5 separate regions of the Homo sapiens genome follow, and regions 2, 3, 4 and 5 are each linked to region 1. Evidence: promoter capture Hi-C in 16 types of primary human blood cells and fetal thymus (Javierre and others, 2016). All regions are on one chromosome and are shown on one strand. The core of a region is centred on a gene start or on the middle of the fragment in contact, and the rest is flanking DNA. Distances in the headings are between cores, read along the strand shown.

Evidence for each region. Contacts are between HindIII fragments. The CHiCAGO score rates a contact against its expected background, and 5 or more counts as called.
Region 2: a contact is called between a fragment that was not itself captured here and the fragment with the promoter of MPC1 in region 1, in 1 of 17 cell types (naive CD4 T cells). The highest score is 5.5, in naive CD4 T cells.
Region 3: a contact is called between a fragment that was not itself captured here and the fragment with the promoter of MPC1 in region 1, in 1 of 17 cell types (non-activated CD4 T cells). The highest score is 5.8, in non-activated CD4 T cells.
Region 4: a fragment that was not itself captured here is called in contact with the fragment with the promoter of MPC1 in region 1 in 1 of 17 cell types (fetal thymus); the score reaches 6.1 in fetal thymus.
Region 5: a fragment that was not itself captured here is called in contact with the fragment with the promoter of MPC1 in region 1 in 1 of 17 cell types (naive CD8 T cells); the score reaches 5.5 in naive CD8 T cells.

Annotation. Positions count from the first base shown.
Region 1 is chr6:166,381,102-166,385,544 of GRCh38, forward strand. MPC1 (mitochondrial pyruvate carrier 1) reads right to left here and starts at 1,839. Exons shown (of 5, transcript NM_016098.4): 1 at 1,705-1,839. The coding sequence starts at 1,775. It overlaps MPC1-DT (MPC1 divergent transcript), which reads left to right and starts at 2,077. Exons shown (of 1, transcript NR_189630.1): 1 at 2,077-4,443. RefSeq lists an enhancer at 982-1,161 and silencers at 1,522-1,621, 1,772-2,511. The HindIII fragment of the contact is 5,196 bases long and covers 753-4,443 here.
Region 2 is chr6:167,119,572-167,124,014 of GRCh38, forward strand. CCR6 (C-C motif chemokine receptor 6) reads left to right here and starts at 3,525. Exons shown (of 3, transcript NM_031409.4): 1 at 3,525-3,652. The HindIII fragment of the contact is 5,763 bases long and covers 1-4,443 here.
Region 3 is chr6:167,088,020-167,092,462 of GRCh38, forward strand. No RefSeq gene overlaps it. Among named protein-coding and RNA genes, the nearest start is that of CCR6, 33 kb to the right of the region's middle. RefSeq lists an enhancer at 4,362-4,421. The HindIII fragment of the contact is 3,042 bases long and covers 479-3,520 here.
Region 4 is chr6:167,011,221-167,015,663 of GRCh38, forward strand. It overlaps CEP43 (centrosomal protein 43), which reads left to right. Exons shown (of 13, transcript NM_007045.4): 7 at 2,288-2,347. Among named protein-coding and RNA genes, the nearest start is that of CEP43, 14 kb to the left of the region's middle. The HindIII fragment of the contact is 2,120 bases long and covers 1,263-3,382 here.
Region 5 is chr6:166,971,871-166,976,313 of GRCh38, forward strand. It overlaps LOC105378120 (a long non-coding RNA gene), which reads right to left and starts at 3,042. Exons shown (of 5, transcript NR_188001.1): 1 at 2,532-3,042; 2 at 1,323-1,382; 3 at 869-918. The HindIII fragment of the contact is 5,838 bases long and covers 275-4,443 here.

The DNA.
Region 1 (4,443 bases), core at 589-3,088:
AGCTAAAGTAATATTCAAAGCTGTAGAGAAACTTAACAGCAAGGATTGAGAGCATACCCTCAGACTGCTACCTTGTTCACATTTTTACTACCATTAATCTGATACATTGCTGTGCTCCACAGTGCTAAACACCCATCTTAATTAATAGTAGTTCTATTTAAGCATAGAAATGTCTTTTTTTGAAAGTCAGAAGTGAAGCTTCTGTTTACAAGTTTACCATATGGCAGACTGAATTATTTTTCCTACCCTACTGCTCTATAAAAGTAGAAGTAAACAGTATTTGCAATAAAATTCAGGATTTAAAACTTTTTTATTGCTAAAATCAAGTTGCCTTCATACTATCCCTTTTGTGTGGTTATAACAGGATTTATTCCTCCTCAGCTTTCATCTCTTTACCTCTTGACCACACTATTAACTACCGAAAAAAAACCGCAGCTGTACACGTACCTAGGTTTTAAAATCATACACTGAAAAACTAACTAAAATTACACTCCTAAATAACCTAAAACTGCTTCAAAGTTATATTCAATATTTTGAAATAAAAGCAAGCGCCCCAAGATGAGAGGTGCAAATAAATTATAGAAAGTGTATTTTCAGGCTTTCCAACCGCGAATGCTCTTTGTTTCTAACTGGAAAGGAGGAGTTAACAGAAAATAGAACAAGAAGAAAAAGTATGACCTTAGAGACACGTCACTTTACTTTGGTTGACAGAATTTCGTATATAAAAACATCTTAAATTGTACTTCCTCCCAAGCTTAAAGTCCTTAGAATGAGAAAACCGAAAGGCGAACCCAAGGCCAGCACATTTTATTTCCGCTGTCCCAGAAGCGCGCTGGGCGCACCCGAAGCTCCGCTCCAACAGCGCCGCGCCGCGCTCTCAGCAGCGCCTCCCGCTGGCGTCTCCCCACCCCACACCCAGGTCGCCGCCTCTGGCACACCTGGACGGCCGCAGGTGACCGGCGACCCACTCCGAGGATCTGGTAGAAACCGGCCAGGAAACCACTCCCGCCCGGAGGAGCGAGCCACTGTCAACTGGCCCGGAGGGACGTGCCCACTGCCAACCATGGGAGAGGAACGAGCCTCTGTCACCCCTGCCGGGTCACCCTGCCCTGAGGGGCGCCCACTGTCACCCCTGCCGGGAGAGGCGTCCCCATGGTCACCCTGTCCTGAGGAGCGCCGTCGCTTTCGTCCCTCCAGGTCCCCACTGCCACTCTGGCCGGGAAGGGCGTCCACTGTTATGCCTACCAGGAGAGGCGTCCCCAGTGTCACCTTGGCCAGGAGGGACGCCCACCGTCACCCACTCCCTGAAGGGGACTCAATGTCACCCCTGCCTTGAGGGGCGCCCACTGTCACCCTGCCGGGAGAGGACACCCACTGTCACCCCCGCCCTGAGGAGCGCCCACTGTCACCCTGCCGGGAGAGGACACCCACTGTCACCCCCGCCCTGAGGGGCGCCCACTGTCACCCCCGCCCTGAAAGGCGCCCACTGTCACCGGCTCTCTACGCCGTCCGCTTCGGGGTGTGGCGGTCCGGGAGGGATCCGGGTGGGGCCCCCCTGACAAGCGCACCCTCTCGCCTGGGCCCCGGCCCACCCGCTGCCCGGGGCCACCGCGTCCTCGCGGCCGCCCTCGTCGCGGACTGCACGGGTCGCAGCCTCCCGGGAGCCCCTCCGGGTTGCGGGGTTCGGCCTGCGGCGCTCGTCACCTCATGAGGTAGTCCCGGAAATCCTTGCTTCGGACATAGTCCGCCGCTTTCCGCACCAACGCGCCCGCCATGGCTGTGCCGACACCAGACCCCGAGTGGTCCCTGCCTCTGCTGCCGCTTCCCAGAGCCAATGACACCCCGGCCAACCCCCCGGCAGCCGACGGCGAGCCAGCCCGAAGGCCCGCCTCACGACACCCGGCCACGCCTTACGGCCGCGCCGCGCCGCCCGGCTCTCGGCCAATGACAGGGCGCAGGGCCAGAGATGGTGGCGCGGACTGGCTGGCTCGTGCCGCACGCCTCCTTCCCGCCCTCGGTGGCGCACGGGGGCGGGGCCCGCTGCCGTAAAACGGCTGGGGCTGGGCCGGGGCTGGCAGGCGGTTGCTAGGCTCCAGCGGCTCCCGGCCAGCGGGGACGTGGAGGTGACATTTCTCTGACCCACAGGACTGTGGGCGCCCTGCCGAGCGTCGCGCGGTCTTGGGGCGACCTGCAGTGGGGCCCCTGCGGCGCAGCGCGCGGTGGGACTGGCCGGGTTCCCGCGCCGCCCAGGGCCTGTGTCTGCGCCGGTTCCTGGCAAGGGCACCTTGGCCGGGCGGCCCGCGTCCCCTGCGCTTCCCACACCCACGTGGGCGGACCCGGCCCGCAAGCTGGGCCAGCCTGCGGTTTCCGGGCACTGGGGAGTGCGCAGAGCCCCGGGCCAGCGACCGCAGCCGGGGCCCCTGGCTTCTCCCGAGCACTTTCCCCCGGACCGGTCCCTCCAGGGTGGCGGGCGGCACCCAGGGCCGGCGCTCCTCACCAACGCGCTGCAGCTACGGGCTCAGGAGGGAGCCGCAGCGTCGGAGGAGGAAAGCATTTAAGAATAGCACAAAGCCTTAGGCTCGAGGAAGCGTGACTGCTTACGTGTTGAAAATAAAGGTTCTGTAAGTCCCACCGCGGGTGCATATTGAAAAGAAAGGGATCATTAGCACGCGACCCTCGCCTAGGAGTATATAAACCGCAGCACGACTTTCGGATCACAAAGGCAGAGAAAAGAACACATTGAAGGCTTTTGCTCACTTTTCCAAGTTGTTTCGTTTCGTTTTGTTTCTAATGTGGACGATCATTTAAAATGCCTCTGGTGGCCGGGCGCGGTGACTGACGCCTGTAATCACAGCACTTTGGGAGGCCGAGGCGGGCGGATCACCTGAGGTCAGGAATTCGAGACCAGCCTGGGCAATACGGTTAAACCCCCTCTCTACTAAAAATAAAAAAATTAGCTGGGCGTGGTGGCATGTGCTTGTAGTCCCAGCTACTTGGGAGGCTGAGACAGAAGAATCGCTTGAACCCGGGAGGCGGAAGTTGCAATGAGCCAAGATTGCGCCATTGCATTCCAGCCTGGGCAACAGAGCAAGACCCTGTCTCCAAAAAAAACAAATAAATATAACAAAATTCCTCTGGTAGCCGGGTGCGGTGGCTCACGCCTGTAATCTCAGCACTTTGGGAGGCTGAGGCAGGTGGATCACTTGAAGTCAAGAGTTTGAGACCAGCCTGGCCAATATAGTGAAACCTCATCTCTACTGAAAATACAAAAATTAGCCAGGCGTGGTGATGCGCTCCTGTGATCCCAGCTACTCGGGAGGCTGAGGCGTGAGAATCGGTTGAACCCGGGAGGTGGAGGTTGTAGTGATCCGAGATTGTGCCATTGCACTCCAGCCTGGGCAACAGAGGGAGATCCTGTCTCTAAAATAAAAAATAAAAGAAATGCCTTTGGTGAACAGGAATTCTCAACATTAGTGACCCGCAGTGTATTAGTGTTAATAATGGACATCCCCTTTGATCCAGCAAGCCCATCTAGAGATTTCCTAGGATAGACAAGCCAGTTTGTGCAATTTCATGTGTACAGCATTGTTTTTAGTATGGAAAGATTAGAGTTTACATATCTACCCATAGGGAGAGAGTTAAATAAATTATGGTGCATCCGTTTAGTGGATTAGTATACAGCCATTAGGAATAAAGGAATTCTTTATGTGCTGATATGAAATATCTTTTTTATTTTCAAGAAAAAAACCCAGGTTCTGAATAGTGTATAAAGTATGCTACTCATTGTGCATAGGGACAAAGAAAATATATACATTCATGTTTGCAAAGATACTGGAGAAATGTTAGTAGTGGCTGCCTCTAAGGATGACCAAGAGTGACACTGACTTTTCATTGTATCTTCCTTTGTTCTTTTTGAAATTTGTACAGTCTACTTATGCTATCTATTCAAAATAAGTGGTGTTAAGAAGAAATGCCTTTGAGAATGAAAATGGTAAGCCCTTGATTGAGTGGGGTTCATTTTCTGTTAGGATCGTGGTCTCTATTGGTCACAGCTGACCTTGATCGTCACTGAAAGTGTATCTCATTACACAATATTGCAGTCTTGAACACCAGGAAGGTTGTTCTGTTCCACATGAACATGCTTCATGATGGGGTTAGGAATGTACAACCTGTGAAAAGTGAGGGAGTCTTGATTATTAATAATAATATTATTAATAGCTACCTTTTCTTGATCATTAGGCACTATTTGTACATTATTTCTCCTTCTCACATCAACCCAGAAGGTAGGTATAAGGAAACTGAGTGGCTTCTTGAATGAAGCCAAACTGCTCTGCAAGATTGGTGGAAAAGGAGACTCTCCATGTGCTAACAGGTTCCTGGATCTCATAGCTGCTCTGTCTTAGCCCTTAATATGTTTCTTTTCCTCATGGATGGTGGTTCTGA
Region 2 (4,443 bases), core at 589-3,088, 740 kb after region 1:
AGAATAACACAGAGTGACTCCCCATGCCCAAATGTATTAGCATATACAGTGAGCATTGAAGGATACACCATTTGACATCTTCGTAAACTCCAAAATTCAAGGTGTCAGCACAGCTTGTACTTCCTCCTATAAAATGTGTTTTTGTCCCTACTAGAGAATTTGCTGATGTAATTTGTTAAGTAGCCTTTTTTAACTTTTTTATGAAGAAAAAGATATAGATCCAAACCACATAACACAGATCCAAGCACTGCTGGGCTCGGTAGTCTATGTTTTTGCAATGGGTGTGAGCCTGTGGCTGCCTGCCAGCTGTCATTGTTGTAGGTTTCTTCTTCCTGTCCCTCCACTCTCAGCACCTGTGCTAACTCTAGGCTTTCCTGGGGAGGGTTTTGTAAAAACCAACAAATGACGCTTTTATTTTAATTTGTTTTGTTTTTTAAAAACATGTTCATTACTTCAGAAGTTTTGTGCGCACAATGAGAGTAGAAAACTGCCCCAGTTATCTACCACCTTGAGTCATGGTGGCTTTAACAGTGATTTATTTACAATCTCTTGTGGCTCTGGGGGTCAACTGGGCTCGGCTGAGTGCTTCTCAGTTGGGGCCTCCACTGCAGGTACCATCAGAGAGTGGGTGGGAGCCATGTCATCCGAAGGCTCGATTGGGCTGGGGGACTCCCACATGTGGCCGGCAGGTGGTGCACTGCTGCTGCCTGGTATCTCAGCAAGAATTCCCAACCAGCTCACCATATTGACTTCCTCAAAGTTTATACAGAGTGTTACTTTAGGGGTTAACAAAGCATTTACTATCTTTTCAACTTTGCTGATAATTTCAAAAGATGACTGACACCCAGATGACCAATGTCCACAAAGTGGTGTGCCATGGCCTCCAGTGTGTGTGCTATGGCCTCCAGTGTGTGCAGAGCCTGTTTGTGAATTAAAGGCAATCACAAGGAGAAACGGTCATGGTGACCCATTCTGAGCTGTACACAGTGTCCTCTGTAGGATTGTAGCCAGAGGCAGATGGCTTTCCTAGAAATGCCTCAATGTTGAGTTTTAAAGCAACTCCTTATGACTGTTATCTGAATTTACCAAACTGTCCCTGGCTTTTCTTAGGAATGAACTTCTGATGTTGCTGTGGAATTTTCTGCCTGGAAACTTATTGTTATGAAACATGTGACTGTAAGCCACATTCCTCGCCTTTTATGCACCTCACAGTGTCTATGCAAATGAACAGTGTGATTTTAAATTTGAGGAAGTTTCAATAAGAGTGAGATCTAAGAGGATCTTTAATATAGGGGCATTTTTAGAGAGCTAAAAACCAAATAGGTCTCAGCTTTCTCAGGGTGACATATAATTTAGATTTGACTTGGAACTACAGAAGGAATATGGGGCAAAGGACATGAGAAACATTGCAGAGGTCAGTGCCATATGGAGCTTCCACCTCAGCTCTCGAAGTAAAGGCAACCAGCCCAGGCTGGGAGCCAGTCAGCAGCAGGGTCTCAATCTCCATCCACTACCTTCCCCTCTGGGGCAGGGAGGGTGTTGCAGGGAGGAGGCCACTCTTGGAGACCTCCAGATCCCTGCCTCTGTGCAGTCTAACAGAAGGGGCCCCCACAGTGGCCATGAATCTCTTTGTTCTGCAAGGAAGGGGGTGTCATTGGGCCTCCTGGGTCCCTCAGCATCTGCGTGGCCACACAACGCGGTTTTGTTCAACACGTTACATTTCTGCTTAATTAATGTTCATTTTTGGTCCCCAGCAAAGTCCAATCTGTTTTTCGTTTTCTTTCTTTTCTTTCCAGGCAGGCATTGCCAGGGCTAATCATCTATAAAAGGGCTTACTTTCTTACCTTCACGCTAAGCAAGACCATCCAAGGGCAGTGTTAGAGGGCACCTGAGAACGCAGGAGGGGTGTGTTACCTGGTGGCCTGTTTCTTCCTCCTATGGGCAGCCCTTCTACAGGAAGCAGAAGCCTCAGGGGCGATGGTAGAAATGAGGAGGAGGGGATGGAGCTGAGGTAGCAGGGGAGGGGTCGTAAGAGCAGAGGGGAGGGTCTTGCTTTGTTCGCCATCCAATAATCAGCAGGTTTCGGGTTGGGGTGAACTACTGGGGAGGAGCGCCCCAGGGCTTCTCTCAGATGGAGGAGGGACAGGTCACCCAGAGTGAAGGAAGTTGTGAGCTCTGTTAGAGGAAAACAGCCAGGACTTAGTCAGGAGAGGCTTTGTTTGGAAGGATTGTTGTAAGGCAGGGAGAGGAATGATGGCAGCAAGAGGACCCCGTGACCATAGGTCTGCAAGCACTTCAAACAGAAAAGGCCCTTCTTTTATCCAGTAAGGGGGAGCCACTGGGGCCAGCAGAGTCTTTGGAGGGGACCCTGGACAAACCCGGGAAAATGGCCAGTGGGGTTGAGCAGGACACAGGTCCTGCTGTGTCTAGCTGGTTCCCCAGAGAGATGATAAGGGGTGCGCTCCAGCTTCTCAGGCTCACTCAGGCGTGAGGACGTGGAGCTCAGGGCTCTGCAGGAAGGAGCGACCCAGGTGAGGTGTGGTCAAGATAGAGCAGAGCTGGGCAGCGGGCAGTGGAGCCTCGTGGGCAGCCTGGGGGTGGGGAGGCACAGTGCACTGGGAAGTGGAGAAAGTGTGAGTCCATCAGGCTGGCTGAGAATTGATCACGAACCTATTGTCTGTAAAACTTTTGTTATTTCCTGAGACGTGGTTCACAGCAACCCAGGTGCGAACAGCCTTGTGATTCTAGGGTTCTTTTCTATTTTTTAAGCACTTGCATCTACAAATAAATTTCTGAGTGACTTGTCGTCAGCTGCTTTCCTTGATATGTCTAAAGACAGGGCAGTGACCCGCATCGTCACCCAGAGATTCTGTCTCTGTGCCACATGAAGATTAGGTGCCCGCTTTTGATTGAGGAGCTCCTCTGTTGCTCTCAAAGTATCTTGTAATAATAGCTGAGATGCATGGAGAACCACCTCTCCTTCAGGCGCTGCTCCTCGGCTTCCGTGGACGGGCATGGCTATTTCTCGGAACCCTCTGAGGTTAGAGCTGTCATGGTCTTTCTTCTGAAAGAGGAAACCGAGGCTTGCTGGGGCTCAGTGGCCCTTCTGTGGCTGCACAGCTTTCGGGGTGGGGCCAGGACTGACTGACTCCACACAAAAGTGCTCCCGGCCCATGTCTTTAACTCACACGGCCTCTTGCAAACGTTCCCAAATCTTCCCAGTCGGCTTGCAGAGACTCCTTGCTCCCAGGAGATAACCAGGTAAAGGAGTATGAAAGTTTGGGTACAAACTCATTGCTGCAAATTGAAAACCATGCAAAGGCTGTCTTCCTCTGGGGAGTTCAATGCCTCTCTTTTTCTTATCACTTTACCATTGGTTGGACTTTGATTCCAGGGATCCTACGATTACTCAATACCCTACAGGATATACATGGTTAACCATTTGCATTTGGGCAAATAGGCGTTACTTTTCAATAGGAAGTGGCAATCCAGAACTTGCTTTTGGGCAATTCTAGTAGCTCACCGCTTTTTTCTTAATGACTGCTAGAAGCTGCATCTTATTGACAGATGGTCATCACATTGGTGAGCTGGAGTCATCAGATTGTGGGGCCCGGAGTGAGGCTGAAGGGAGTGGATCAGAGCACTGCCTGAGGTGAGCATGCCAAGGCCCCTGAGACTTTTCTTTCAAAAATGTAACTTCTTTGATCCCCTAGTCTGACAGGAATGGGACTGTTTTACTCATTAATCTTCCAGAATGCTGGCATATTGACCATGTTTATGCTTAACGACACAGACTTCCTTTCCTGAAAGCATTGACTTTATGGTTTTAGGAAGCCCACTTTTCCTCTAAGTGTATAGTAAGGGATTTCATACTCGCTCCCTGCACTGGAGCTTCGGTGATGGTCTGGGTACTTGCTCCTCATACAGGAGATATCCTCAGGGCATCAGTCTGGAGAGGAATGTGATTCTTTATTTGATCAAATACACTGAAAGATTTTGGAAAACAAAAAAATTAAGCTAAGAAATATTTTGGAGGCAGTAAGTCATTTATGCAATGAAGGCTGATGAGTGGGCATCCCGGACAGCCTAAGATTGAGCAGGAAGGAGCTTGTGAGGGGGAGTTAAGAGAAATTGACAAGGTGGAAATTTCAACAAGTCTCAGTTGCAAAGCTCTCATGAGGGCTGCCAATGCCACTGTGATTATGAAGGCAGTATCTTATGACCAGAAAATAATACACAATGATATTAAAGGGAGCCAGGCTAGGTGCAGTGGCTCATACCTGTAATCTCAGCACTTTGGGAGACCAAGCTGGGTGTATCAGCTGAGGTCAGGAGTTCGAGACCAGCCTGGCCAACATGGTAAAATCCCGTCTCTACTAAAAATACAAAAATTAGCCAGGCATTGTGGCATGTGCCTGTAATCCCAGCTACTTGGGAGGCTGA
Region 3 (4,443 bases), core at 750-3,249, 710 kb after region 1:
AAACTCTGTCTAACAAGGCCTCCAAGAGCTGTGAGATCATCTAATGTACATGCAGTTGGAGTCCCAGAACAAGCAAACAAACAGCAAGGAATAAAACAGAAGAAATATTTAAAGAGATAATTTGCAAATATAATGCAAGACAGCAAACCTCAGGTCCAAGAAGCTCAGGGAATCCCAACAGTATAAATACAAAAACAAATAAAAAATCTCCATACCAAAAAAAAAAAAAACCCCACCTAGACACATAAAATCAAACTTTTTAAAACCAAAGATAAGGAGAAAATGTAGAATGCATTTGGGAGTTGTGGGGGACATTACATACCCAAGAAGAAAGATAATTGTAATAGATTTCTTGTCAGACATGTAAGCTGGATGTTAATGAACTGACATCTTAAAGTACTGAAACAATTAATCCAGAATTCTATTATTCTATTACAGATCCATTAAAATATTGTTTTAAATTAAAGGCAAAAATAAAAGCTTTTTAGACCCTGAAAAACTAAGATAACTCACTGCTGAGAGACTTGTGCTACAATAAATGTTAAAGGTAGTTCTTTAGGCTATAGGAAAATTATACCAGATAAAAATTTGGGGTTACACAGAGAAGTGAGCACCAGAAATAGTAAAAGTGGATATTAAAAACATTTTCTCATGGCTGATTCTTTAAAAGACTGTCAACTATGGTGGCCAGGTGCAGTGGCTCATGCCTGTAATCCCAGCACTTTGGGAGCCTGAGATGGGCAGATGGCTTGGGTTTAGGAGTTTGAGACAAGTCTGGGCAACATGGTGAAACCCTGTCTCTACAAATAATACAAAAATTAGCTGGGCATGGTGGTGTATGCCTGTAGTCCCAGCTACTCAGGAGGCTGAGGCAAGGAGGTTGAGCCCAGGAGGGTGAGGTTGCAGTCAGGCATGACTGCACCACTGCACTCCAGCCTGAGCAACAGAGTGAGACCCTGTCTCAAAAAAAAAAAAAAAATTGTTAACTAAATTAAAAATAGTAAACAGGGTTTATGACAGATGTAGAAATAAGATACATGAAATCATTTGCACAAAGTGGAGGAAGGAGTTGGAACTATCTAATGTCATAAATGCAAACTACTAAGGAATGATAATATTCTGAAATTGTCAGTTTTTTTTAGGCAAAGTAATAATTTCAGATCAGTTGCTAGTATCAATGAACTATCAATGTTTGAAATGTTTTCAGTATAAGTAGTTCAAGGGTCAGTATGAAACTTAAATTTCGAGGGAAAAAAACTAACATCATTTAATTCTGTGGTTTTCAGATTTAGCTAATATCAGAATCACCTGGAAGAGTTTGTTAAGCAAAGTTTCTGAGCTTTCTGGGCACTATCCCTGAAAAGTCTGATGTCACACATCTCCTGGAGGTAACGCCTCTCTGTTTAACAAGCAGCCTCTGCAGCCAACAGGTTTTGCTTCTCTGGGGAGGAAGTTGACCTCAGCTGCAGTGACCTTCCTGGAGAATTAAACAGAGGGGTGCAGATCCTTACACATGGCCCTCTACCAGGATGACGACCTCCCTCTAGAACAGGAGATACTAGTTTTACTGGTTAATGGCAGAGCCGAGTCAGGGGAGGCCAGAACCAGGCAGAAGTAACTTGAGTTTTCAGCTCTGGAGAGACTGCAGCCTTGGTCAAAGCCAAGAAAATCCCCGTCCTTGCGTTATTGAAGTGGTCAGTGTGAAGAAACAAGAACTCCCCAGACACTGGATCTCTTTGATTGATCTAAAGACCTTTCACTCCAGGCACATGGGGCCCATGAAAACTGTGGGCCCAGCAGCATATCACACCAGCCTCTTGGTGTGGTGCTCTCTGTGGTTCAGAATAGGAGCCTCTCGGGTCACTGTAGGACCCCACCGGCCCCTTTCCTCCAGACATAGGCCACAGATCAGCAATGTATTTTAAGCGACCCCGTTGGCGTTGGGCCATGTGTGTGGCATCTCTGTGGCAGCAGGTGGCCACATGCTCCTGAGTCTCAGACTGGAGGTGAATAGGGCAGCAGAAGAAGTCACCAGTGTTGAGCCAAGTCACAAAGAATAGGGCCAGTGGCAAGGGTGATGAATGGGTCAAGGGGATTGTAGTCAAGGAGCTGTGGGCCAGGGCTGGGCTCCATGCAGGATTGTGCCTGGGGGACCATCGTGGGAAATGGCTTCCTTTGAGCTCCTCAAATGGAAGCAAGAGTCAGCCTGGTTTTCTTCCCTCCAGGGAGCAACACAGAAAGGATTTTCTTTCTTCCACACAAGAGGAAGTTTTTAGGCTCTGCCAAGTAACCAAAGTAATAGAAACTGTGATGTCTCCAGAACTAGCCTCCAACTTCCTCCAGGTGGCAGGAAGGGGAGCAGCCACCTCGCCTCTGTGGCTGCTTTGTTTTTCCCTTCTTTTCTTGTTCCTCCATAGCCTACTTCCTCCATTTTGGGGTTCCTGTATGTAAAGTACTCATTGACCCAGAGATTGTATCTCAAAACCTTGTACCCAAAGGAGCAATTTTCCTGTGAACGTTCCCAAGACAGCGTTCCCAAAAGGTGTTACCAGCCTCAAGTCAGCAATCATAGTGTGGAACGGCGGTTTAGTTGTTGAGTGGAATCTCTTAGCAATCTTCCGACAAGCTGGATCAATCAAGTGAAGCTAGATTTCTATTGTTGATTTTGTTGTTTGTATGTTCTCATGACTTAGGCATGACCTATGTGCCTCTCCTCCTCCAGCTCTCCAATTTTCGCCATCCACTGTGTGTCAGACTCAGGCCTTTGAGGTGCCTGCATCTCTATATACCACACATGAGGCAGGTAGGGCTCAGAAAGATTAACAACTTTACACACATCACCCCATTAGGAAGTAGTAGGGTCAAGAGTCGAGATTCAAATGCTGATATAATTCCCAAGTCTGTGCTCTTAACCAGCAATATCATCTTCAAGTTCAGCAAAGAGTGTTTTGTGTTTCTCTATCCAAATGATGCCCATCTACTCTGTACCATCTATGAGCGTACACCATCTATACTCTCATATCCTCACGTGCCCATTTTTCCTGTAATTCCACTTCTTAGGCTTGTTCCCTTTAATACTATAACCAAGCGAGGGAATTTCCACTTTAAAAGGGAATTTGAAAGAGTAGAGTCTCATGTGACTTCCATTCATTTCCCTGACCTGTAGTTGTCCAAGGGACAGAGGGCGTCTTTGCATGTTCAGTCAGTCTAAACAGCTTTATTTGGCAAGATGTTTACCAGTTTCCATGGTCTTTGGCAAGATGTAAACATGGGCAGAGGGTCCCGAGTAAGAAGAAGTTGGAAAGGAAGTTGCCTGGCCACCGATGAGGCTTCGCGTAACTGTTCCACATAAAGGTCGTCTACTGTTTTTTTTTTCTCTTTCAAGTTAAACCTCTTCCCCTTTTTAGATGACAAGTCACAAAGCTGATCTACCCCAGATTGTGGCAACCTCACCCTATCTATACATCAGCTAAAGGCTGATCGAAGATCAGGTCTAAAGATTGTTGCAAAAAATGAGATAAGCTTTTAAAAAACCCCAGATTCTTTAATTTTGTATGTCAGTCATCAAGTCTTCATTCACACGCTCACTCAGCAACTCTTTCTTGAGCGCCTGCTGTCTGCGCTAGACCCTGGGTAGGCAGGAATGCAGGCTAAGCGCCTTCTCTATGGGGCCTTACATCCAAGCGACAACGTGCCAGGAGGGGACCAGTGCCCAGGAGAAAAGGAAGCAGCATCAGAGCCAGGAAGGGAGTTGGGATCGGGAAGCTCTTTTAAGCTGGGTAGTCAGGGAAGCTTGAACTGAGACACCCAAGGGGCCGACAGTGTGGTTGTCTGGAGAGCAACCTGGGAGAGAAGCAGCAAGGACCAGGGCCCTAGAGCAGGGACCGGCTGGACAGATCCCAGACACAGTGTGATTGCCGGGGCAACTGGCATAAACAACAGAGCTGGGAAGGACACAGGGCAGCGGGAGGAGAGCAGGGCAAGGGCGAGGGCTCCACGGGGCCTCTAAGTCATGGGAGGACACAGGGCATTATCCTGGCGCATGTGGGGTGCCCTGGGGAGCTCAGAACAGAATCCAGACATGATTTGAATCATGCTAAAGCTTTGCCTTCTCTGGAGGGCAAAAGTTTGGGGCAGGAAGGAGTGGGAATGACTGGCTATGAATGTGGGATATACACTATTAATACATCCTGGAGATGGCCAGGAACATTTGCTGATTTTGCTGACGTATTTGATGTGGAGAAAGAATCCAAGCACGACTGCAAGGTTTGGGGCCTGAGCAGTTGGAAGGACTGACTGTTGCTTTGATGATAGCACATGTCGGAGGAACAGGTCTGGGGAGTGAAATTGAGTTTGGCTTCAGATCTGAGACTCTTCTGAATACTCTGAGTGGGGGTCGGCGTCTGGAGTTCCACAGGAGGCTCTAGGCTGAAGACAGCGTGT
Region 4 (4,443 bases), core at 1,073-3,572, 630 kb after region 1:
AGAATATTAAGCTAGAAATATGTATTATAGGATATAATATTGAATGAATATTTTAGACTTCTAGATGGGTGATGAGATTCAGAATTGTAAATCATGATGGTTTTTAATATACCTGGGCTGTTTTGATACAATTTCTAAGAAAATGTATGTACTTTGGTTACATTTGTGTGTGTATGCATGTGTGCGTCTGTTTGTGTGTTTATGAGTTGTTAAAGGTAAGACTTGATTTCAGAGATTAAGCATAATGGGAAAAAAAATGAGCTCTACACTTTGAATTTAAGATCCAGGATATGTAGGAATGGATAGAAAGATGATTGTCAGGAAATTTGTTTTCTCAAGAGCACAGCATGAATTGGTAGTCCCAGGCGGTCTTACCAAAGGATAGGTTGGGGTCTGTCTTAGTCTGTTCAGGCTGCCAAGTACCATAGATTGGGCAGCTTACAAACAACACATTTTTCCTCACAGTTCTGGAGGCTGGAAGTCCAAGATCACGGCATCACTGTGGTTAGGTCTGGTGAGGTCCCTCTTCTAGGTTGCAGAGAGCTGCCTTCTCATTGTGTCCTCACGTGGTGGAAAGAGGGTGAGAGAGCTCTCTGGGGTCAGGGCCCTAATCCCATTCACAAAGCCTTCACCCGCATGATCTGCTCACCCCGCAAAGGCTCCACCTTCTGATACCATCACATTGAGGGTTAGGATTTCAACATAGGAGCTGGGGGTTTGTGGACTACACAAACCTGCAGTCCATGACAGGTCGGGTTTGTATTCTTTGACTGTCCCTTTGATTTTCATCCCATAGGAATAGAGTGATGCTGTGGAGTCCATTCCAAAAGATGAGGTCCCATGTGGGTTTATGGTGGTGGATCGACTCTCAGATACAGTTGCATCTTTTTAAATAGATGAACTTCCAGGACGTAGTGATTATACTACACGATACCTTTCTTTTTTAAATGTCTAGGCACAGAACATTGCTGAACGATTGCTGTTATTTTTTGCTTGTTCTTTGATGTTGTTGCTCCTTTTTATTGTTTAAGTTTGGAAAACTAAGGAATTTTATACTTCATTTCTAACCAAAGAAACAACTATTGTATTGTTTATAGTTGCTCCTTCTGAGATTTCTAGTTGGTGTAGGGAAGGCCTTTTTTTAAAATTTTTTTTTTCCTAAATACTCATAGGAGGCTATAACCCCAGTGATAGAGTAAGGTCATGAGTAAATTTTTAAAATTTCTTTAAATTAATTGCAAATAAAACAGCCTATGTAAGTAAGCTTTACTTTTCATGAAAATACCTGGCTTTAGAAAAATTAAAATTAATGAATATTCCAAAATACTTATCAGTACCTATAGCATTTGACTATTTGGAAGCTCTTTTTAGCAAATTATTACTGTTTTTAAAGCAAATTAGCAATCCTAACCTATATATAATGTATGTCTTCAGGGTAAAATATTAAAGTCTATTTTACGTACTCTTATTCTCCCTACATACATTTTAAGATCTAAGAATTATAATGAGAATCTCAATGTTTTAAGTCAGTCAGGAAATGATGCTGTGAGTTTTTCCAGAGAAGGGGGGACTGTCCTGAGGCTGCTTTAGAGAATAGCGTTTGTCCTAACAGCTGTCTCTGCCGTCATCCCGTTATTCTAGTTTAGTCTCCGTTTCTCAGTTGGCCTCATAAACCCACTTCAGAAATACCCTAGATAGTCCTTGTGTAGGGTTGCATCTGTTCTAAAATAAACCCTTATTTTGGCACTTAAAATGCAATTTCTCTAGTACTAAAGGACCTGGATTTGGGATCCAGTACTTTCCCTACCGTCTTCTTGCTAGCTACCTCCTACCAAATCAGCCTTGAGGGCCCACGGAGAATGCTAGAAACTCTCCAAGAGTAGGGTCCACCCAACCTTTAGGAACCAGCTTTGTGTGCTCCTGAGAAAGGTCAGATGAGGTCAGGACAAGTCTTCAAGGAAGTTGCCTAGGAACTCAAGTGAGGCTTATTTAGAATGCTGCTAAAATGTAGCATGAAAGAGCTGATTCTCCACCCAGTAGAAGCTGAGCAGGTGGAGGCTAAGGTATCTGTGTTTGACCTAGTAACTATTGGAAACAGTAAACATGAGGTAGATCACTCTAGGAATAGTTAAGAAAGGACCAAAAAAAGCAGGCCTCACAGAACATATTAACTAGATGTTCCACTTCTGAGACATTTTTCAGTAGGTATCTTTGTTTGGTAATGAGTTAGTTTATTTTTTAAAGATTTCTATTTTGTGGTAAAATCTCATTTTATTCTCATGCTCAGATACCAAGGTATAAAGGACAAGGTAAGAAGAAGACAAGCGGGCAGAAGGCTGGTGACAAGGTAACATGCATGAGGGCAGAGGAGAAAAGCAGCCTGTGGGCATCAGGTCTCGACTCTGGGGCCTCCTGGAGCGCTGGGCTCCTGTCAGATTGGGTTCTCAGTTTTCTTATGAAATGTCACTTGAGGCTGGGCTAGGTGGCTCACGCCTGTAATCCCAGCACTTTGGGAGTCCAAGGCGGGCGGATCACTTGAGGTCAGGAGTTCGAGACCATCCTGGCCAACATGGTGAAACCCCGCCTCTACTAAAATACAAAAATTAGCCGGCCGTGGTGGTGTGCGCCTGTAATCCCAGCTACTTGGGAGGCTGAGGCAGGAGAATCGCTTTAACCCGGGAAGCGGAGGTTGCAGTGAGCTGAAATCGTGCCATTGCACTCCAGCATGGGTGACAGAGTGAGACTCTGTCTAAAAAAACAAAAAAGTAACGATGGCATGAAATAAAAAGTAAATTTCACTGTCAGTTTTTATCCAGGTGAAAATCATACTGTTGAATCTTAAAACCATGCTCTCAGTTTTACTTTGAAAATTCCTGTTGTGTTGGCAATTAGAGTTGAAAATACGTATTTTTCTTTTGAATGGATGATTATATACATATTAGTAACATTGTGATTTTTATTTGAGGAAAATAGAACATCAAACTATTTTTTTGAATACGTACCTATTGATAAATTAAAAATTAAACGTATTTCCTCCAAGATGTTTTTGTGTTCTGTCATTTTTCAGACAATTGCACATTTGTGATCCTTTATTCAGTGCCCCTGCTCACAGTAGACTGCTGGGGGCCAGTGCTGCATACTACCAAGGCCTTGGCTGCTTTTTCATCCTCTCCTAAAGATCACAAAAATTGACTAATCCAGTAGATTAGCTGCTTATGAAATTTAAATATTAGAAGTTTTAGAAACATTATCAGTACAGTTTTTACATGTACTTAGGATAAGACAAAATATTTAATTTTCAGTTCTGTGAGATTCATTAGTCCTATGCTGAACTTTGGTTATGTATAGATTTTTTCACTAGGTTGAAAATCTTCAAACTTAAAGCTTTTTAAAAATTCCACCTGTTGTGTTAGATGGCTTTAGTTCTAGGAGTTTCAAAGGTAAATTCCTATTACTGTATTCTCTTTCTGTTCACACTGTTCTTTATGCGTTATTAAACAAGAAGTTGCTTTAAAATAATGATTTAGTAAGTTTTTTTTAACATTTACATAGTGAAAGTTATTGTGTGTTAATGCTTTGGGCAACACATTTAACACAGTTCTCACTTAAGGAGTTTATAGTTTAATTGGAGAGATGAGACATACCTTAAGTAAGATATAAAACTTCTTAATAGATTTTAAAAATCAGTTTCTTGGGCTTTTCTAAAATTTAAAAGCATATTTTATAGTATTAAGCTTTTATAATCTTACTGCTATTGTGGGTTTCAAACAACTTAAACATTTTCAAGAAGTTTATACATAGAGCCAAGGCATCCTAAGAGATGTGGTTTTCACTTTGTGTGATGTGAAATAACTGTGATGGGCCCAGACTTTAGCTTTCGCGGTACTTTGGGCAGAGTGTAGTGTGTGCCCTGACTTGAGAGGGGATTGAAGAATCTAGGTGGGCCCATATCCCAGGATTTAGTCCATAATTTGGGTCTCTTCTATTTCATTGTTGTGTTCCTGAGGCCAGGATGCTTCCTCAATTACTTGGAAACCTTTTTCCCTGTACATTTCTGATCTTGTTTCTGAACTGCCTTGTGAGAAGTCTGTATTGTACCCCATGTGGCCTATTGCCAGCCTTACTTATATGGGTAAGCCCTTAGCTCTTTGTTCCCCTGCCTTTCTGCTTTGCCTTGTGCATGCAGTGAGTTCCCAACAGCCTTAACATTCTCAACATCTTCATCATCCAGATGCTATGTTGCATGTGGTGGTTGAGGTTGTACACAGCAAGACTCCAGATGGAGCCATCCGCATGGTAGGTGAGTGGCATCTCCCAAGGTATGCAAAGCCATCATGGGAGCCCTGCCTGTCCTGCAGACGTGAACTGGGCATGCGATGCAGGAGGGCCTAGGGTACCGCTGCTCCCGGAGCTCTGGAGCACTGATCAGGAGTGTCGCATGTG
Region 5 (4,443 bases), core at 1,944-4,443, 590 kb after region 1:
CATGAGCCACTGTGCCCTTCCTACATTTCTGTTTTTATTCTACCAATAATTTTAAAGTCAGCTTGTTTAGCAAAGTTATACTTAAGTCAGGTGAACTTGAAAATTGCTTAAACTTATTTACTTTATTTATGAGTGCTCTTTTACTTGTAAGCCAATTTGGTAGACACAATGTATTACAATAGGTGTACATACAAATAAACACATCTAGACATGTAGACCCACACATAAACGAAGAACCAACAGCTTGGAACCTTAGCTGTGAGATAGCAATACAAGCTTGTTGGCATTTACTTTGTCTCAATAGATAATCCAACAAAGGCTGTGAACCAAAATTTCAGGTAAAGCAGTCTCCATGGAGCTTGATTTTTCAAGACCAAACCTCTCCAGATTCCAAAGAACACTGGGGCCAAACAGCACCCAAGGAGCATGTCACATGTTAACCAGGCCCCCTGCTTAGAACAGCAGCAACAAAGGCTGGATACATGCAATGCCATCCCACTTTCCCATTCAACAGGAAACTCCAGATTCCAAACTATACTGGGGCTAAACAGTATTGCAAACCGGAGAGAAAATTCTAAGGGGGGCTTAGTACTAGACCTCAAAACCTCTGCCGAGAGCACCCCCTTTGGAGAGGTTGAGATTCGGAGGATCCTCAGGGCGTCCCCCTATGGGGTCCAAAAGAGTGTCAGACGTCTCTGACCTTTCTCTGCATGTTTTCCCTCCAGAGCCTCCTATGAGCTATGAGCTTGATAAGGATAGCCCTGAACTGTAATGATACATAGGAACTGGATGCTGGGTGGGCTTTTTTGTCCTTAGATAGTTGAATAGGACAAGCAAAAAACTTAGCATAAGAAAAGGTTTAAGTCACCTGAAACAAGTGTGAGTTACCACCACCACCGTAGGGATCAGGGACCACACCTGGAAAAGATAAAAAAAAAAAAGAGTCATTCCCCCTTCTGGGTAGGGCAATTATTCCCATTCACTCTTTGGCCTTCAGGCGATACCAGGGAGTGACCCCAGCGAATTGCCCTCAATTTCCAAGAAGCTACTAGGAAACAGCCGCTAAAAGACTGAAAAACAAACAAAGGAAAAGAAAAAAGAAAAACACTCAGGTCCCTTAAGTGAATAGGGTGGTGGTGGTTAGGCACCTCCACATGGAAACCCCTTATTTCACTGGTCACAGCCAGAAACCTGCAGTTGCTTCCATGTTTCTGCGCTTCCCACCAAGGGTCCCGAGGTGGAAAGGAACAGACAGACAGAGAAAAATCTCCCTGTATGTAAAAGGGGAAAGGAGAAAAATAAATCCCAAACTTTGGGCCTACCTTCTCCTGGCTGGCTCGCCAAAATATGTTACCGGTGGAGGGTGTCCAGTTTCTTGGTGTCTTGAACAAAGAATTAGACAAAAGGCACAAACAAAATAAGGAAGGAATGAAGGGATTTATTGAAAATCAAAGTACACAGCTGGGCGCAGTGGCTCAAGCCTGTAATCCCAGCACTTTGGGAGGCCGAGGTGGGTGGATCACCCTGATGTCAGGAGTTCAAGACCAGACTGGCCAAGATGGTGAAACCCCGTGTCTACTAAAAATACAAAAATTAGCTGGGTGAGATGGCGGGCGCCTGTAATCCCAACTATTCGGGAGGCTGAGGCAGAGAATTGCTTGAACCTGGGAGGCAGAGGTTGCAGTGAGCCGAGATCAGACCACTGTACTCCAGCCTGGGTGACAGGGCAAGACTCTGTCTCAAAAAAAAGAAAAAAAAGAAAAGAAAATGAAAGTACACTCCACAGTGTGGGAGCAGGGCTGAACAGAGGGGCTCTAAGGCCCCGTTACAGAATTTCTGGGAGTTTAGATACCCTCTAGAGGTTATATTCCATTGGTTACTTTGGGTGCACCCTGTGTAAATGAAGAGGATGAAGTAAAGATACACAGTCTTTTACTCGGTGTGCACCCTGTGGAGAGGATATTTCCTGTAATAGCTGAAGTGTGAATCGGCCTTATGTTCCCTGCTTCCAGACCCTATTTTTCTGCTTCAGTTTGGATCTGTGTACCCCGACCAAATCTCATGGGGAATTGGAATCCCCAGTATTGGAGATGGGGCCTGGTGGGAGGTGATTGGATCACGGCGCGGAGTTCTCATGAACACCTTAACAGCATCCCCCCTCGGTACTGTAAAGTGAGTTCTCATGAGATCTGCTTGTTTGAAAAGTGTGGAACACCTTCCCCTTCTCTCTCTTCCTTCTGCTCCAGCCATGTAAGATGCCTGCTTCCCCTCTGCCTTCCACCATGATTGAAAGTTTCCTGAGACCTCCGGAGAAGCAGAAGCTGCTATGCTTCCTGTACAGCCTACAGAATCGTGAGCCAATTAAACCTCTTTTCTTGCCAGGCGCGGTGGCTCACGCCTGTAATCCCAGCACTTTGGGAGGCCGTGGAGGGTGGATCACGAGGTCAGGGGTTTGAAACCAGCCTGGCCAACATGGTGAAACCCTGTTTCTACTAAAAATACAAAAATTAGCCGGGTGTGGTGGTGGGCACCTGTAGTTCCAGCTACTGGAGAAGCTGAGGCAGGAGAATCACTTGAACCCGGGAGGCGGAGTTTGCAGTGAGCCTAAAAACAAACAAACAAAAAACTCTTTTTTTAATAAATTAGCCAGGTATTTCTTTAGAGCAGTGTGAGAACAGACTAATGCAGGGTGATCATTTGGATCTAGCTGCAAAGAGAAGTTTGACGTTTGCATTCATTGAGCCCTTTTAGAAAAGATCAGGCAGCTAACTGTTGGCAAGGGTATAGAAACTTGTGTGCTGGAAATCAAAAGGCCTGAGTACCTGTCCATATTTCCTGCAACTTGAGGGATCTCTGTATAGAAATTGAGAAAGAAAAGAAACTTTATCTGAGGAATGCAAGCCTGCTATAAATTATAGACCCACAGAGGCATGAGAGTGAGGCAGCAGTCCATCCCACCACCCGCCTTGAGCTAAGTAATCAGCTCTTGAAGCTGCTTGCTATGTGGGCTCTAGACCAGCTGCTGCCACAAGCAGCTATCAACTAACCAAGCAAGGCCACTCACTGGACACCATACTCCATACCCCACAGTTCACCAATGTATAGTCAATCACTAATCAATCTTATTTGTCTAACCAATGGGAATTCCTGACAAACAGCTGTATCAGCCCACTCCCTGTCCCTCTTATTGCTTTGGAAAACCTGCTTCTGTCAAAGGCCTAACAGAGCTCATATCCAAGGTGACCTGGGTCTGAGTCTTCCAGGTGGCTGTCCTCTCAACTTGGCTCAAGTAAACTTTTTTTTAACTGTTATTTTAGGTTTGGGGTACATGTGAAGGGAAACTTGCATCACGGGGTCCTTGTCGTACAGATTTTTTCATCACGCAGGTACTAAGCCCAGTACCCAATAGTTATCCTTTCTGCTCCTCTCCCTCCTCCCACCCTCCCCCATCAAGTAGACCCCAGTGTCTTGTTTCCAACCTATGTTGTTCATGATTTCTTATCATTTAGCTCGCACTTACAAGTGAGAACATGTGGTATTTGGTTTTCTGTTCCTGTGTCAGTTTGCTAAGGATAATCGCCTCCAGCTCCATCCATGTTCCAGCAAAAGACATGATCTTGTTCTTCTTTATGACTGCATAAACTCCTTAAAATTATATTTTGTGGCTGGGTGTCCTAGCACTTTGGGAGGCTAAGGTGGGTGGATCACCTGGGGTCAACAGTTCAAGACCAACATGGTGAAACCCCGTCTCTACTGAAAAATACAAAAATTAGCCGGGCATGGTGGCGGGAGCCTGTAATCCCAGCTACTTGGGAGGCTGAGGCAGGAGAATTGCTTGAACCCAGGAGGTGAAGGTTGCAGTGAGGCGAGATTGCGCCATTGTACTCCAGCCTGGGCAACAGAGCAAAAACTCCGTCTCAAAATAAATAAATAAATAAAATAAAACCAAAGTATATTTTGTGCCTCAGTTCCTTCTTTTAGGTCAACAAAATAATAAATTATTTATTGGCCGGGCGCGGTGGCTCACGCCTGTAATCCCAGCACTTTGGGAGGCCACGATGGGCGGATCACGAGGTCAGGAGGTCGAGACCATGCTGGCTAACACAGTGAAACCCCGTCGCTGTTAACAATACAAAAAATAGCTGGGCGTGCCTGTAGTCCCAGCTACTTGGGAGGCTGAGGCAGGAGAGTGGCGTGAACCTGGGAGGCGGAGCTTGTAGTGAGCCGAGATCGCGCCACTGCACTCCAGCCTGGGCGACAGAGCGAGACTCCATCTCAAAAAAAAAGAAAAAAAAATTATTTATCATTATTAAATAAGAACCCATAGATGTAACGCTGCTGTGTGCAAACCTAAATGTCAGTCATATCGTGGAGTAGAAAAAGAGAAAGTTGAAGTTCTAGACCCAGCTTTGCCCCTTACTAGCCTTGGGTTCTGGAGCAAGC